Regions from separate parts of the Homo sapiens genome. Here all the other regions are linked to region 3. The links are contacts of gene promoters, found by promoter capture Hi-C in blood cells and fetal thymus (Javierre and others, 2016). All regions are on one chromosome and are shown on one strand. Each heading gives the region's core, a stretch centred on a gene start or on the middle of the fragment in contact. The rest is flanking DNA. Distances are from core to core; before and after follow the strand shown.

The links. The method cuts DNA at HindIII sites, captures the fragments that hold promoters and counts their contacts. A CHiCAGO score of 5 or more calls a contact.
Region 1: a fragment that was not itself captured here is called in contact with the fragment with the promoter of RBMS3-AS2 in region 3 in 1 of 17 cell types (endothelial precursors); the score reaches 5.2 in endothelial precursors.
Region 2: a contact is called between a fragment that was not itself captured here and the fragment with the promoter of RBMS3-AS2 in region 3, in 1 of 17 cell types (endothelial precursors). The highest score is 5.9, in endothelial precursors.

The regions. Positions count from the first base shown.
Region 1 is chr3:29,142,268-29,146,007 of GRCh38, forward strand. No RefSeq gene overlaps it. Among named protein-coding and RNA genes, the nearest start is that of RBMS3-AS3, 140 kb to the right of the region's middle. The HindIII fragment of the contact is 3,111 bases long and covers 1-2,851 here.
Region 2 is chr3:29,285,680-29,289,403 of GRCh38, forward strand. The region is part of intron 1 of RBMS3 (RNA binding motif single stranded interacting protein 3); the gene reads left to right. Among named protein-coding and RNA genes, the nearest start is that of RBMS3, 6.5 kb to the left of the region's middle. The HindIII fragment of the contact is 1,090 bases long and covers 1,034-2,123 here.
Region 3 is chr3:29,640,412-29,644,535 of GRCh38, forward strand. RBMS3-AS2 (RBMS3 antisense RNA 2) reads right to left here and starts at 2,405. Exons shown (of 3, transcript NR_174948.1): 1 at 2,248-2,405; 2 at 683-736. The region is part of intron 4 of RBMS3 (RNA binding motif single stranded interacting protein 3); the gene reads left to right. The HindIII fragment of the contact is 8,371 bases long and covers 1-4,124 here.

The DNA.
Region 1 (3,740 bases), core at 46-2,545, 500 kb before region 3:
TTTTTTGGACCTTTATTCTGATGTATGGCTTGGAGTTGCTCACATTTAGATAAGAAACTTCAATGTGTTGACAGTATAATTATTTCACAATAGTTAAGATAGTGAATTCCACAAACTTACTTCCAGCATCATTCTATCTCTGACAGAGGCTCACATTTTCTCTTAATGCCTGTTTTAAATATATAGATAAATTTCATTTGCATATTCATGAGAAAATCTATTTCTCCTCCTATCTTCTAATTCCCAATATGGTTGCATGTAATTTAACCATTTCTGACAGTCCTGGTAAAGAGTTTGGTCAATTTCTAAAGGTAAGAACTATTCTAGAAAATAAACTGTTAGGAAACAGAAACCTCAATGTGGAGAAAGTTGCCAGGCGGGCTGCTAGAATGTGACATTTTTTATGCCCTGGAGCTGGTGGTAGTGTGATACAATAAGAAGGTGAGACACCTAATCCAGCCCTGCCAACTCCCAGCTCTGTGATCCTTAGAAAGTTACTGATATAATTTGAACCTTAATTTATCTATCAAATGTGATTTGAGAATAATAATCTTGTAGATGTGATAGGATTAAGTAAAATAATATTTGTAAATTACCCAGTACATTTATATTTAAACTTACATAAGACTGTATGCCAAGCAGGGTTTGAGTGCTCTGCAAATACAATTTCATTCTTCATAACAGCCCTGTAAGATAACCTTATTTGTATAAGTGTTCCCATTTTTCAGAGAAGAAAAATGACCTATACAGGGGTTAACTAACTTGGTTAAGGTCACCCAGCTAGTGCCACCTAGCAGGCTGCCTGTCTTAGAACATGCAATGGTGGATAAATACAGCTACCAGAATATAATATCAGATATGTTTTTAAAATGGAATGAGAAACCATCTCTCTAGGGTTGGCCCTACACACTACAAATGTCCAACCTGGGCATCTAGTCATTGAAGCCCCGCACCTAACCACAGAGTGGTGCCTTCCCCATAGAACAGGTTACTCCATGTATGTTCATGTTCATTTCGATTGCTGCCCCATTGTATTTTCATGATTTCCTGCTATTTTTTTTAGTTTTGTGGCATAGATATTGCTATTTCACCTGTAATGTGACTATTGCCTCAACAGTTGACTTCCTCTGTTAACATTATTGTTTTCTTAGCTGTTTCCTTCCCCATTTTCACCTCCAGTTGTCTACATTTACATTCCCCAGTTCTCTAACAACTTTCTACCCTCCTGGGCTAACGCATATTTAATAAGTTTGTATGGTTTATCTTTAAAGTTTGTTTTTCCTGCTTTTAGAGCTATTAAGTAGAACTCGATAAATTGCTGGAGGATAAATTGTGGTGCACATTGAATCTATGCAAATTTGTATTTTGTTTTAAGTGTCTCGTTTTCTACAATCACATGCCTGGCTGATAAATCAATGGCTTTATTTTCTATAGAACCTCCCTCGGCATGATCTTCAAGGCAGGTAACCCTACTCCATCAGACCTCCTGAACTAGTCCTCCTCCGTTACTTAACCTAGTGCCTATCTTAGAACATGCGATGGTGGATATATTCAGCTGCCAGAATATAATATGAGATATGTTTTTAAAATGGAATGAAAAACCCTCTCTCTAGGGTTGGCCCTACACACTACAACTCTCTTTGTCATACCCTTAGCCACCAGATCCCTACCTTCAGGTCACCAGCCTGGAGCTGCAGTCATTTGAGTTTGTGATTAATGCTTTAGCATTGGATTTCTGGATATCCAGAGGTAACTGAGTTTCAATCATGCTTGACGCCCCTTGCTTTGTTTCTAACTTTGCTTTTTACTTGCCTTCCACCTTGTTTTGACTTCACCATCAATCCAGTCTTGGGTTCAAACTGACTCTGGTTTTCCCCACTTCTTGAGTGACTCCCAGCTAATCTTTGTTGTTCTGTCATAACTAGGTCTTGGTTCCTCACTGGCTGTTGGTCCCTGACTTGGGTCCGGTGCTTATGACATTCCGCTGCCTTGTTCCAGGCTTGCCCTACGTGGCAGCCACCATATCCACTTCTTCTTCTGAACCCTGCTGACTTAGGGGCTTCTGGTGCACTCTCAACACCTAAGGACTGCTTCTGCCTTGCAACCCGGTCTCTTTTAACCTTTTGTGACATTTGAGTCAGTCTTTAGGAACTGCACAAGCAAAGCTGCTGAGAGTCTCTTGCTAAATGTTGTTCTTATCATCTTCTTTGTGCTTTGCAGTAAGTTATGAGCACATTCCCTCTTATCAAGCATTAAGTGAGGTGTTGTGGTAGAAACACTATTACTTCCTTCCTAAGTCGGTGTACTGCATATGTGGAGAAGTTGGCCAAATGCCCCATGCTTGGGCTTTTGGCTAAGCCCTAGCACATGCAACTTATACAAAAGAAGCTGCTAGCTCAGCACCTGACTGGCATCCCTGAAGCCCGTGGGGAAAGTATGTAAATTTGATTCAAAAAGGAACTCTGGATTGCCTACACTAATGCTATAATTCTGACTGTTAATCCTGACAAACAGCGGCCTGTAATTCTTGTTAACTCTCTAGTATCTAACCTGACATATACCATACCATTTCAAAAGATCAATTCCCAGTAAATACAGGATGTTTTCAGTTGACTGTCCACAGTATTTAGCAAAGATGTTTTACACCAGTGCCCAAAAGACAGGTCTTTAATAGCCACCACTTCTGTTTCAAGCTGCAGACAGTAGGGGTAGATAGAAGTACACATCTGAAAGACAGCTGAGTGTTTCTTCCCGACACCAGACGCTTCTCTCCTGGAATAGGGCCAGATCGGAGCTGTCTGGATTCTTTGTGAGCCTGTTCCAAACTAACGTATTTATTATCAAGGAGGAAAGCTTGCCTGATGTTAGATCACTGATGTTTGCTTTGCAGTGTTTTCTTGCAGAAAATTGCAAGAAAGAGCTTGAAACAATTTTGGTGAGGAAACTACAGAGAAATCCACTTTTCTCAAGGGTGAAGTCCTGACAATACCCCTGCAGATTGGGAAAACTGGCTATCACCTTTTTCCTCTTTTTATAAGAAAAGTGATGCTTCCCAAATGATAAATAGTGACAATATATGAGGGTCTAATGGTATTTTGTTAAAGGCTGGAGCATTCTTACTGAATGTTTTAAATATTCTTGGTTATGAGAATAGGGATTTATTTTTAAATGATTATTTGGCCCAGACAATGCTTATAAAATATGTACATTCTGTTGGTACAACATACAAATCTTTTGTGGTGGTTTTGAGAAAACCCCAGACTTCTCAAGTCTGGGAACAGATGGAGCTCTAAACTCAACCGCATCTTACAAAAAGGACATGTGTTACTATCTGCCTGTCTTTTCACTTTATGTGAGATGTTCCACTTTCTAGTGAGCAGTTATCAGACTTCTGTGAGTATACAAACTTTTGAAGTGGATGTGTTACACAGTTGTAAAATTAGAGAATTTTGGACTCAGCTATGTCTTTTAACAGGTATTGGTAATTAAGACCTTTGGAAAGTGATAACCATTTAAATGTGTTTCACAAGATGGGATCTGTAGCATTTTGGTCACAGGTATCGACATGTATACATCTGTAAGAACTTGAACTCAAATGCTTTGAAAACATCAAGATAAAATAGTTCATTTAAATTATAAAATTTCTCATTCCCTCATTCCTGTGTAGCTGACTAAAATCCACTGGATAAGACCTAACTGGTGGTGTATGCAGGGCACTGGAGATGTTGTACATTATTCAT
Region 2 (3,724 bases), core at 329-2,828, 360 kb before region 3:
AAGAAGTAGTTAATCAACTGCACGTTGATTTCAGGCTGAATATTCAACCATCTGCAGCCACCCGTCTCTAAAAGTCTAGCTGAAGCACAATTGATTGTGCCATAGAATGAGCAAACGCTTGAAAACACAAGTAGGTGAAGGAAGAGAGGCTTCCACGGAGCAAAGGATATTCTTAAAGATGTGAATGTACAGATCCTTCAAAAGCAAAACAAAACAACCCTGTAACACCCTCCTTACACATGAAAATGTAGAAAATCTTGCAGAGGGAGGGAATGAGTTTAGAATTTCCTTAGTACTTCCTGCCTCAGATTTGCATTGATATCCAGTTGGTAACTTGCCAGTTGTTTTAAAACAGCCTTGAAAACTCCAAAGTTCTGTTTTCCTTTGAAAGCCTGAAACATACAAAACTAGTTTTCTAAAATCTTCCAGCGATAGAATTTTTAGGTACAACTCCAAATATTTTCTTTCGCTTCGGGGGGTAATATAATAGCATGAAACTATGATAGCATGAAACTATGATAAATCCTGTTTGTCTCACTTTAGACTGTATAGAATTTTTAATTGGTTTCAAATAAGAGGAAAATAGAAGGAAGGGGCCATCCTTGTTTCTTAGTTTTGTTTTTTTTTCTTAACTCCCCCAAGCCTTCATTATCAGTGGGATTGAACACAATCCCAGTGCATGTTTTGCTATTTTTTTTCCATGATATAGACATTGTTTTTGCAACACTGAGTTTGGTGCCTACTTAAAAGGAGTAGAAACGTAAAAAGTTCATGGTATTTTCTTTTCTCCAGAATGGATTCAAACTTAAGGAAAATATCATGTATATTTAACAGCATCTTTCTAAAGCATTTTCCTTTCACTTTCTTTCAATTTGGAAAAAAAATAGCACAAAATTATAGCACAAAATTATTTCCATGAAGTAATAAAATGTATCTGAGGGCTGGGGGTAGGGATAATTTGCAGGGAGGGACACAATATAGAAGGGAGGATGCAAGTTCATTCTAGGTCTTTCTGGCTTCAGGAATTCTGGAAAGCTTCATTTTTGCACTAGTATGATTTTACACAACCTTTTTGACATTATCAGTCTTTTGGCAGAGAGAGTTCAGTCACAATTATGCCCATGTCAAATTCTAAAATCAAACCAAAACAACAAAAAAAGTATTTTCTTTTAAAATAAAACTTTTTTAATGTCAAACATTTTATTCAGAGTAAATGGTTGATGTTTATTCAAAATTGGCTTCAAGTACTACATTGAAATTGTTTTGTAACAGTCTCATAAGCCACAGCTGTATGTGATTAAATAGTGTAATATCAAAAGCATGTGAGAATAGACGTTTTTATGCTATAGCTATTGCACAGCAAGAGTGCAGATGGAACTGAAGGGAGACCAAAAGCGAAAATGTATTCATGTGGTGTAATACGTGTGTTGAGGATATGTGTTGCTATTTTTTGCAGTAGTGGGAAAATGTTGAACTATTTTGGATGTGCTTAGAAAATATCCTCTCGGAAAACGGAAACAGACATATAATACCATTTTTAAAATGTGGAGTGGATCATGCCATTTAATTAGAAAACACATAGGTGCTGAATAGATCTGAAACCAATTCAAGTGGAAGAATGAAAATTATTCCCATTGAGTACACATTCAAAAAGCAAAAGTGACTTTCTCATTTCTGTTTTGAAATTATAAATTTTTTTTTACTACTTTAATTTATGGAACTATTGTAAGAAAACCTTCATCCCATTGATACCTAAAGAAAAGTATTAGGCAATAAGAATCAGCAACTTACAGATGGCAAAATAGGTGGCAGTATATTGCTTTTTAAAGATATTTGGAAATATGATGCTCTTCAGTGTTGTATAAATATTGCTCTTTTCTTACCAGTGTTAAAAATTACAAAGATACACAAGGACATACAACTTTTGCTTCCATTTCTGTAACAGAGATGTTATCGTAAAGAGGTGTCTAGTTTTAATGAGGTGATTTAATACAGTGTTTTTGAAATAATATTTGTTAATAAAAATTAATAACCTCTAGCTTCCTAGAGATAATAAATCTATAGGATTAATCATACTAATCATCACTACCATTCATATGTGATTGTTTTCAGGGCCTTGAGAAAGCTTATAGAATTGGCTATTTTTAGATTTCAGATTTTAGACAGAAGTAATTTTAAAAAGAAAAAGAGAGTGGCAGACTGAGATGAGTTAAATTTTGCTTGGTTTTGTTTTTATTTTTTTTTATTTTAAGTTGATATTGGCAGATAATCTGGTCTTATTAAAAATGTTTTGTTTTATCCATGTAGGTTTATTACTCAGGGAGTATGTATTATGTGGAATCACGAATAAAATTTTAATAATTCAAAACCAATTCCTAATAAATATCAAATTTCAAAAGTAAGGATAATAAAAGAAAGATAATAGATCCTATCATTTTGTGGGGGAATTCTCTGATTTGTATGTCAATGCATTGGTTTCTAGGTTGGGTTCCTTCACTAGGATCCCTTCCATTGTGAGATAGCTGAGCCTGCTTTAGTATCTTAGTGGTATCTTCAGGTGACCTCGGTTTTGTGTCATTCATGAGTTTTTCTTTTGTTCCCAGATGCTTTCCACAGGGCAGATCAAATGCTGCTTTACTGGCTCTCTGGTGATTTGAAAAATTTAACTGTCTTCATCCTTTCACACATCTAAATCCAGTGCACTGAGAGAAACACGTCCATCACTTGGGAGTGGGTGGATAGAAGTTCCCAGGAGTGGAACAAAATGACAGCCATTCTTTAATCATGACCTTTTCCAGCTTTATTGTGGTGGTTACAATTTTTCTTCTGAGTGGGTAAAATTAAGGTGTATCCAAAAACTTAATTGTGATAGTATGATGCTTTACTTTTCCTCATTTAACTTCCTCTCTACAGGTGGTGCAGAGCTAAATGGTTATGCATGTTTGGCTAAACCAGTTGAGTTAATGAAGGAGACTAGAATTGCCACATTAAAATACTGACAACTTTAGTTTCATGAATGATTATAAGGAGTCAGTGTAACTATAACAATTAATGAAATATTATTTCGACTGAATCCAAAACCTACAAATCCGCAAAACCTACAATCTCTGAATCTCAGAATAGTAGCCTAGAAAACGTGGGAACTGAATACTGTGGTTACCTCAGCTATACTGTAGTATTGTAGGAGGGAAATAACTCCCCAAGGGCATATAAACAAGAACATTATCTTTTCTACTTTTTCTTTTGAGATTCCCTTCTTGTTTTTCAAAAAGCCCCTGTTAGCTGAATTAATGAAAGCAAATGACATATGCTATTTTAAATTATTATTTAAGCTTTGAAAAATCATACATTATTTTCATATAACTTAGTCCATAAGTTCCTATTATGCTTGCTTCTCTGAGTATATTTGGAGTATAAAACAAGGAAGATAATCCTTTGGGAAAGTTGGTTTCTGTTCATATCAGTCTGTGTGTTCATTTATTCATTTGTGAAATGGGTGAAATAACCCTGACCTCAACAATATATTATAGTGGCCTCTGCTATGGAAGGTATGAAGTTACTGAACTGTTAAGAGAAGGGTGGTCCATACATAAGTAGCAATGTTATCATTTCTGAAGCCCAACTGCATATTTTTATTTACTTTATTACAGACTCAGCTCTGAGGTGGGTAGCCTGTCTTTAACACAGAAAAGAGTTTAGGAACTCCTCAAATGTGTAAAGGCCA
Region 3 (4,124 bases), core at 1,155-3,654:
AGACATTTTAAACAAACACAATTCTAAATTTAACAGAAGATAAGCGAAGTTTGATAATTTAAAATTCTATAGGACCAAGAGCTTGCTTCACTAGTTAATATTTAGAAACATCAATTGGTCAGTCTGTTGTAAATAAAATCCCTGGGTTCTTGAAGGATGATGTGTTACACAAAATAATTTACACTGAACTATTTGATCGTGCATAGATTCCACTGGTTCAAAGTGGAGGAAAACATTTTAATGATTTTACATTCATCTGTACAATTCTTTCTGCTATCAATCATATAGTGGTCCTTGGCATTTTTTCCTTGTTTTAAAGTAGCTTTTTACCCTATATAAAGAATAATACATATGAAACAGTATTGTATTTAACCCTAAAATATTCCATTTCTGCTGTCAGATAAACTGAGTTTGAAGGCTATCTCTACCCCTTACTCCTGTGTGACCCTGGGTAAGTTATTTACTGTCTCTACAGCTGTGTTTACCCATCTTTAAAAATGGGGATAATGATTCTTCCTACTTCATAGGGCTTTTGTGAGAATTACATGATAATACATGTAACAAACTTAGCATAGTCCTTGGCCAATTGCACAAAATAAATTAGCTATGAAATGTATTTGTTCATAATAGAAACTTCAAGAAAAATAACTAGGAAAGACATAAAAATCCTCTATAGTCTCACCTCCGAAGCAAGCGATAACTGTCATTTTGGTATCTTTTATTCTTCCTTCTTTATCTAAAGACAAATTACAAAAATGAATCTATTCATACATATTGTATTTTAATCTGATAAGTTGTGTATAAACTAAATCATTTTCCCTGTTACTAAATATTGTTCAAAAAAATTATTTTCAGTGGCCACATGCTTTCCCATTTGTAAAGCAGTATCATACTGTATTTTAAAAATATATTGCTGAGCATAATGGTTGTTTCCAAACCACCAGTATTTCAAAGAGGCTGCATTGACCATCCTTATAAGTAAATATCTCTACATATTCATAATAATTGGTTTAGAATCGATTTCTAAAGTTAGAATTGCTGAATCAAATGGTATATCTTAAATGTATATTTCATACACGTTTTAATGTACTGCTAAATTGCCTTCCAGAATGTTTGTGCCAATTATTACTTTTAGTAGTATATCAAATACTTTTTAAACAATAGATACATTCACTTTAAAAAGAAATGGCAATGACTTTTAATTTTTTAGCTTATTTTATTGAGTTTGAAAAAGATTTGGCCACTTGTTTTTTTCTCTCTTGTATACTGTATGAACATTTGAATTTAAAAAATGTATACTGCACTGCTTCTTTAATTGTCATATTCACTGAGGTAACATTTGTTGAGCATCTACTCAAGACAGGCACACTGCACAGGGTGAGAGATGTAAAGACCAGGACACTTATGCTAAAGTCAGTGGTGTCCATGAAGAGCAGAGGCACAGTGAAATTTGCCTGGTCCTTCTAGGGGCTTTGGAGATGCATATTAAACATCTGAAGCCAAGGGATTCTTCTTAGAGCTGTCCTCCCAAGAAAGAGGGAACCAAACAATGAGGAGATTTGGCAAGTCCTACCCAAAGAGAACTGACATTTCTTAGGCATTTTATGAAGAGATACATAGAACTCCAGTTCCACTTGTTAAAAGCAATAACTGCTTTCACTTACTGAACATGCACGCTGTGGCAGGCTCACTGCTGATATTTTACAACTTTCTGCGATCAGAAAGGTTATAACCCGTAGATCTGCCAATGAGTGGATTCTGACCCTGGGTGAAGTGAATGAACTAGCCCAAGAGTTTGCAATTCTAAGTGGAAATGCTGGGATTCACCATCTGATCTGATGCTTTGCTCTGTCTTCTCTTATTTACACCCAGGTTTCTCAGCTTTCCACCTTTGTTATATTTGCATTTTGCCATACCTGCCTGTTAACCTTTTCTTAAAACAAATTGATCATCTATGTTTATTTTTGAACACTTTGTTGTTAGTTTCCTTAAAAAGGAAACTTTGTATCTCTATTATAAATAGAAAATCAGTTATATTTGCCATATAAAAATAAAATAAGTAAAAATGTATGGTTTCATGTGTACCACCAAAAAGCATTTCATCTTTCTATCCCCTTTCCCATCTCTTGCCAGAGGCCAGGCTATAACACCTGAGGAAACACTGCCCCAGTCACTGCAAACATTTAGTCACTAGGGACAGCAGAACAAGACTGTGGGAACTTGGTAAGAACCTGGGACCCTTTGTACCTTTCTTCTGTTGGTTTCTTTATTCTCATTCTCTTCTGGATGGTCTCCAGAATAACTGGGGAGACAACACTTACAGGAAAAGCGCATGTGTTCTTGTCTCAGAGTGGAAGAAAGAAGAGCCGCCGTGTTCCAGCTAGTGCTCAGAGAAGGTGCTCTACATATCTTGTTGACCTTGATTTGAGCTATAAAAGGCTGCTGACTCAGAGCATTAAAACAGAACCACTGGCTTATTCTCTGAGTAATTCAAGTCTGCCTTTCCCTCAGTCGATCCCAGAGGTGGCTAGTCAAGCCTGGCGATGTTCATTTACCATCAGAGATTAAGCCTGTCTGGCCAGGCTTTGTCTGGTAGCATTTTCTTAATCAAATATAATGACAATTTGAATAAACTCAAGTCCATTGAACATTGTTCATGTTTTATTATTAAGAAAAAATAGGCACTTTGATTCTTGGAACACTTTTTAAAAGGCTCCTCGCTGTGTCAGTCTCTGTTTGTTATTTTGGGGCATGACAGTTATCTAAAGAGAACCAGCCAGATTTAATCTGACAGCCACAGTCAGGGAAGAGCGCTACCAATCTAATTATCCAGTAATCTAGTCAGAATGGGAGTAATTCTAGGCCTTTCTCAGGCAGCTAATCACATTTCCTGTGCATTAGCAGCCACACATGGGGAGCTTTTAGGAACAAGGTTTTTGGCCTGCACGGGCTTCATGAGCCTCATAGTGGTATAATTTCTTTGTTGACTTCTTCCCCCAGAGTGGTTTCTTCAGGATTTTTCATTTTGTTCTCATTCCTACTTTTCCCCTGCATTGCCGAGGGTGTCTTAGCTTAGCTTCAAGTTCTAAGTTTGACGAGCTTCTGACTTTCCTTTCAGAATGCAGCAGAGGAGGAAGGGTACATTCACGGATCCATATGCTTATTTCTTGTGCAGGGACAAATTAAGGAGCGTAACACAGTCTGCAGGGAAAAAAGGGAGAAAAACGTGAAAGTTGTTTTCTTCAAGGAAAGCGCCGTTGTTTGTGGGCCATTTTTCATGTCATTTCTCTATCAATGTGGGTGATTTGAGGGAGGTTTCTAGAGAAAAGGCCGGAGAAAAGAGACAGTTAATGGATATTTAGTTCTGTCGTTGTCTCTGAATGTCAAGCTGTAGGTAATATTGATCTCGTCTCATTTCTGTAATCACAATTTTAACATGGAAAAAGGAAAACACACACACATTCAGGGAGTGGGAGCATTAATGAATTTCCTGCCATTTTCTTTCTCTGAAAACCTCCGTTTAGGATAATTTCATATTAGTCCTGTAAAGCAGAATGTTTTTCGAGTGCATTGGTTTCTCACACTCCAAAATTGAGGTTTCAGTGGCAGTATGCCGCTTCTACCCCCAGCTTTCAAACATTTCTCCAGCTTCTCATAATCACAGCTTGGTTAGTCTGAATCCAAACATTTGAATCTAATAGAGGGGAATTCTAGTCACTAACAGGTTTACAATATAGTAATTTTCCCCAAAGTTATCCATGATAAATGGGCTTCCCAAATAGCCTCTAGCAATCACAGCATAACGCATTAGATGGAACACTCCAAAAAAATAAAAAAAAGGAAATTTGAAATCCTGTGTTAAATTGTCGTGTTACAATTTTGAACGGGTTTCAATCACAATTTGCATCCTCTCAACTGAAATTTTTGTGGGCTTAAACAATGCTTTTATTCCAGTAATTGTGGGAGGTATATGCCACTAGGGGCTGCATAGTTTGGGTGTGCCTCCATGCACAGACAAGAACTGTTGCTGAATCATAAGTATATTTGAGCCTCGTGTCTGAAGCCTGTGGACCTAGAGCCTAACGTGTCTCAGATGGAACACGTAGACTGGTTCCAGTGCTTCT